Linked DNA regions of Homo sapiens: region 1 is linked to region 2. The links are contacts of gene promoters, found by promoter capture Hi-C in blood cells and fetal thymus (Javierre and others, 2016). All regions are on one chromosome and are shown on one strand. Each heading gives the region's core, a stretch centred on a gene start or on the middle of the fragment in contact. The rest is flanking DNA. Distances are from core to core; before and after follow the strand shown. Region 1 overlaps RNF168 (ring finger protein 168). Region 2 holds the start of TM4SF19 (transmembrane 4 L six family member 19).

Region 1 (2,827 bases), core at 30-2,529, 130 kb after region 2:
TGCCTAGTTCCTCGCAGTCTTGCCAAGATTAAAACAAAACAAAAAATTCCCTTATCTTTGCTAATCTGAAGGATGAACAAACTTATGAGTATTAGCATAAGATTATGCATCTCTTCACCTAATAGTTCAGAACCGGTTATAGTTACTTTCTTGTGAATGATGTTTCTTGGGAACATACGCATTTCTAGTTCTCCTATTGAGGACTTTTCTTTTTTTTCTTTTTTTTTTTTTTTTGAGACGGAGTCTCCAGTCTGTCACCCAGGCTGGAGTGCAGTGGCACAATCTTGGCTCACTGCAACTTCCGCCTCCTGGGTTCAAGCAATTCTCTGTCTCAGCCTCCCGAATAGTTGGGATTACAGGCACACGCCACCACACCCGGCTAATTTTTGTATTTTTAGTAGAGACGGCGTTTCCCCATGTTGGCCAGGCTGGTTTCAAACTCCTGACTTCAGGTGATCTGCCTGCCTCGGCCTCCCAAAGTGCTGGGATTACAGGTGTGAGCCACCATGCACGGCCGAGTTATTGGTCTTTTCTTAATGAACTGGAGGATACTTTACATAAAGGAAATTAGCTCTTTGTGATGAACTGCAACTATTTCTTCCCAAGTTTGCCACAGCTTCCAATTTCCCTTGATGGTAGTTTTTGTTATGCAGAACTTTTAATTTTCATGTAGCTGATTTTTACATATTTTTAAGTTGTGGTAAAATACACATAATAATCCATTTTTATTTTTAGTATTTTATTTTTCAGATTCTCAGCCTCTGCACAGCCTTAGTACTCCCTGAGAAATTCAGTGTTTGCATATCCTTTCCACAAAAATGAGAGGAAAAAGGACCAGTACCTGCTAGTGACTGATACATTTATTAGTTTCTAACAAAAAGGCATACATGGTAGGCAGAGTAGAAATACTAACAGAAATTAGTTTATCTTGAAACCAATTTTAGTCAGGAAGACTTCTTCACAGAGAATGAGCTGAATATATAAATCCCAAATATATCACACCATATATGTGATATATTTACACCTAAATATATCACACCCTCCTTTTTGGTCACAGACTATTCCAGGAAGATTAAATAGATAACGTTTAATTTGAGGCATTCAAGAATGTCCACCCTAAAACTGAAAGTGAAATTGCTCTTAGAGAAAAATTGGTTTGATGAGAAGATTGATCTTAGCCTGTCTCAGACAAATTTGGTTTATTTATTTTTACTTAACGACCCATGTGATAGTATAGTTGCAAGCTATACTTCATTTAACTACAATCATTACTCAGAGGACAATCACCTTAAGAGGCAAATTAAGTTTTAAATTAGCACAGAATTTATAATTACCCAATCAGCATTGACATAGATGCCATCAGGTATGCAAAGATTAACAAAATTCTATTACCAACCTTAGAGGAAAAAAACTTAATGACATACAGAAATACTGGCAAATTTAAGCTAGAATTAGCTCCAGGACATTTTATCTTATTTTCACATTAAAAGAATAGATTACTAGATATCAGCAGAAATGCTGTTAAAGCTATTTTTTACTAATAGTTGTTCATATTAATGAAACAAAAGATCAATAGTCTCTGAGCTAAATTTCACAAAATGAAATCAGTGTCTTCTGATTTAACTTTCAGGAGTAAGAAAGGGCAAAACCCAAGCACCATACTTTCTATTTCTGTTCATAAACTCAAATAAAAGCAGTATCAACACAAATGATCATATAAGAAAACACGTGGTTATGTTTCAGGTTCCACAACATAAGACACTGTGAGGTAACTCTCCTGTAATACATTCCCATTTTTTTCTGGAATAGCAGATGCATAGAAATGCAGGTTTCCAAAAATTCACCCAATTTAGTAACTAATTTTGATTCTGATGCCTGATAGTAGGGTGTGAAAAGCTGTAAAACCCAAATGTTTCCTGTGTTCTTTCACAAGGACAAGGGAAGAGGATGCTCTGCCAAACTGCCCCTGCTGCGTCATAGTGGACCAGTTTCAATGATCCAGACTGTCAGTCACCCCATCCAGCCTCATCCTCATCTGGACCCATTTCTCACCACCCAATCAGTTTCAATGATCCAGACTGTCAGTCACCCCATCCAGCCTCATCCTCATCTGGACCCATTTCTCACCACCCAATCAGTTTCAATGATCCAGACTGTCAGTCACCCCATCCAGCCACATCCTCATCTGGACCAGTTTCTGACCACCCAATCAGTTTCAATGATCCAGACTGTCAGTCACCCCATCCAGCCACATCCTCATCTGGACCAGTTTCTGACCACCCAATCAGTTTCAATGATCCAAACTGTCAGTCACCCCACCCAGCCTCATCTGGACCAGTTTCTGACGACCCAATCAGTTTCAATGATCCAGACTGTCAGTCACCCCATCCAGCCTCATCCTCATCTGGACCCGTTTCTGACCAACCACCCAATCAGTTTCAATGATCCAGACTGTCAGTCACCCCATCCAGCCTCAGCCTCATCCTCATCTGGACCCGTTTCTGACCAACCACCCAATCAGTTTCAATGATCCAGACTGTCAGTCACCCCATCCAGCCTCAGCCTCATCCTCGTCTGGACCCGTTTCTGACGACCTAATCAGTTTCAATGATCCAGACTGTCAGTCACCCCATCCAGCCTCATCTGGACCAGTTTCCGACGACCCAATCTGTTTCAATGATCTGGACTGTCAGTCACCCCATCCAGCCTCATCCCAGCTCTTAACTCCTTCTGCATAGTTCAGTTTCCTTTCTGGCAACTAATTCCCAATTTCCTAGAAAACCCTGATTTTCTGATTTAACACTGATTCGAATCCACTTTAAACCAA
Region 2 (2,876 bases), core at 151-2,650:
TGTAATCCCTTTCCTTGAGGAGCTTAAAGTCTAGTGGGGACACTGCTGACGCAAAAAGCAATTCTTTTTTTTTTTTTTTTTTTTTTTTTTTGAGACACAGTCTCGCTCTTGTTGCCCAGGCTGGAGTGCAGCGGCATGCTCTTGGCTCACTGCAACCTCCGCCTCTCGGGTTCAAGTTATTCTCCTGCCTCAGCCTCCCAAGTAGCTGGAATTACAGGCATGCACCACGCCCGGCTAATTTTGTATTTTTAGTAGTGATGGGTTTTCGCCATGTGGGTCAGGCTGGCCAAAAAGTAATTCTAATCAAGTGTGGTAAGAAATAGAGCAGACATGAGCAGGGCGGGAGAGGGCCTCTACCCCAGTAATGTCAGGTGACTATCAGGTGATGGCCAGGCGGTTGTTACACTGTCTTTCTAAAATAATATTGGTCACAGCCAGCGTTGGGAAAGACAGTCTCCCAATAGATAGAAAATACCTGAACTTGGTGATCAGCAGCTTCCTGGTAAGAGCTCAGGAATTGGGCGAGTGGGCTCAAGCATCTACACTAAGAAGCAAAATGGTGGAGTTTAGCTGGTGTGTGTGACCTTCCTCTAGTGCTGCTCCGCGGGTAAGGGAAAAACGCCTCAAGTGAGCATGCGCACGACTTCAGTAAACACACTGCGCATGCGGCCCCTCCCAAGTGCCTGTGCGGCAGGCAGGCGCCAAGTCAAGGGTCTAACAGCACATTTGGGTGTCTCAAGTCACGCACTTGGCCCTTTTCCAAGTGTACTTTACTTCCTTTCATTGCTGCTCAAAAACTTTTTAATAAACCTTCACTCCTGCTCTCAAACTTGCTTCAGCCTCTCCCTCTGCCTTAAACCCACTTCTGCCCCTCAGCCGAATCTCTCCCCCGAGAAGGCAAGGATTGAGTTTGCTGCAGACTCGCTGGATTCACAGCTGGTAACAGTAAGTACCAGGCAGGGGCATCCAACTTAAGGTGTCATGGAAGCACATGGAGGAACCTAATCCTATCTGGCAGAAGCAAAACGAAGCTTCCCGGAGGAAGGGCTGCCCATGCCCAAACTTGATGGACGATGAGATACTAGGCAGGAAGAGTATTCTAGGTGCAAAGGCCAGAAGTTGACAGACTGAGGCAACAGGAGAAGGTAAGTGAATGGCGCAAAGTCACACAGACGCCAAGCTGCAGAGCCAGGCTCACTGGAGTGGAAGCGTGCACTCTCATCTGTGAGGCTAGGCTGTTCCCTGGCCGTCACCTCACCCTTTCATCTCTGCTTACCTGCATCTGGTGTCAAGAATCAGAATGGGAGAGACAGAACCTGGAGAAAGGCTGCGTCTTCAGAGTGGGGCTCCACTCCTCCAGCTCCAGGGCTGGACCTGAAGGTTGTCTTTCCAGGACTCTTTCCAGGAGGGCCAGGGAGGCTCTGTATATACGTAGAGGTCACCCAGGCGTGTGTGTGTGCGCGCCCCCACGCCCCTGCCCACAGGCCTGCATTGAAGGCGCTTCCGCTCCCCGGAGAGCCCTGTCCTGATGACCCACCCTCTGCTCATTTTCATGTGATTCTAAGGCAGGAAACGGGAGACATGGCCTCATGAGCTCCGCTGTCCTGATGAGTCACTGGATGCACCCGTGAGAAACACCTCACCCTCCGCTCTCCCCAGGCAGCAACACTTGCCACACCCCAGCTGTTCCTGTCCTCATCTGCCACCCCGCGAAGAATTTCGGCTCTTTGACAGAACAGCACCGAGCAGGGCAGCCACCCCTTTTTCCTCATCACTCTCCTTACCTTGCCCTTGGCTGACTCGATGTGTTGCATGGTTCCTGTACTAGACGTCTAACTTTTTTTTTTTTTTTTTTTTGAGACAGGGTCTCACTCTGTCACCCAGGCTGGAGTGCAGTGGCATGATCTCGGCTCACTGCAACCTCCGCCTCCCACACTCAAGCAATCCTCCCACCTCAGCCTCCTGAGTAGCTGGGATTACAGGCACCTGCCACCATGCCCGGCTAATGTTTGTATTTTTAATAGAGACGGGGTTTTGCCATTTTGGCCAGGCTGGTCTCGAACTGCTGACCTCAGGTGTTCGCCTCAGCCTCCCAAAGTGCTGAGATTACAGGTGTGAGCCACCGCACTCAGCCTCTTGTTCAAGCCCCAGGCCACTATCATCTTGTACCATACTCTCACCAAATTGCTGAGGATTTTGTGGTGCTCTCTGTGTGGGAGATCCGTGACCCTCTATGGACAAGCTCCTATTCAAGATTCAGTTCAAACATTCCCAGTGAAGTCTGCCAGGATTTCTTTACTCCGAGTTAGGTACTTCTTTCTCTATGCTCCCATTGCATTTTAAACATCTAGATATTATATACAGTAAAGTGCACAAATCTTTTCTTTTCTTTTTTTTTTTTTTGAGACGGAGTTTCACTCTTGTTCCCAGGCTGGAGTGCAGTGGCACAATCTCAGCTCACTGCAACCTCTGCCTCCTGGCTTCAAGCAATTCTCCTGCCTCAGCCTCCCAAGTAGCTGGGATTACAGGCACGTGCCACCACGCCTGGCTAATTTTGTATTTTTAGTAGAAACACGGTTTCTCCATGTTGGTCAGGCTGGTCTCAAACTCCCGACCTCAGGCGATCCACCCGCCTCCGCCTCCCAAAGTGCTGGGATTACAGGTGTGAGCCAGCACGCCCAGCCTAAAGTGCACAAATCTTAATGTTAAAGTCTGATGAATTTTTACATGTATACCCTGGTGAACCAGCACAGAAATCAAGATACAGGACATTCCAAATCCCCAGAGGTTTCATTGTGTCGCCTGTCATTCGTATCCCTTGTCCCCAGTGTTAACTTTCATTTTGGCTCTTATAATAATTGATTAGGTTTTAGTTG

The links. Contacts are between HindIII fragments. The CHiCAGO score rates a contact against its expected background, and 5 or more counts as called.
Region 1: a contact is called between a fragment that was not itself captured here and the fragment with the promoter of TM4SF19 in region 2, in 1 of 17 cell types (M2 macrophages). The highest score is 5.3, in M2 macrophages.

Annotation. Positions count from the first base shown.
Region 1 is chr3:196,468,061-196,470,887 of GRCh38, forward strand. RNF168 (ring finger protein 168) reads right to left here. Exons shown (of 6, transcript NM_152617.4): 6 at 723-2,827. Among named protein-coding and RNA genes, the nearest start is that of RNF168, 34 kb to the right of the region's middle. RefSeq lists a silencer at 2,147-2,323. The HindIII fragment of the contact is 4,437 bases long and covers 1-2,827 here.
Region 2 is chr3:196,336,988-196,339,863 of GRCh38, forward strand. It overlaps TM4SF19 (transmembrane 4 L six family member 19), which reads right to left and starts at 1,401. Exons shown (of 5, transcript NM_138461.4): 1 at 1,277-1,401. It overlaps TM4SF19-DYNLT2B (TM4SF19-DYNLT2B readthrough (NMD candidate)), which reads right to left and starts at 1,433. Exons shown (of 6, transcript NR_037950.1): 1 at 1,277-1,433. RefSeq lists enhancers at 925-2,124, 1,491-1,785 and a silencer at 1,534-1,705. The HindIII fragment of the contact is 5,119 bases long and covers 1,030-2,876 here.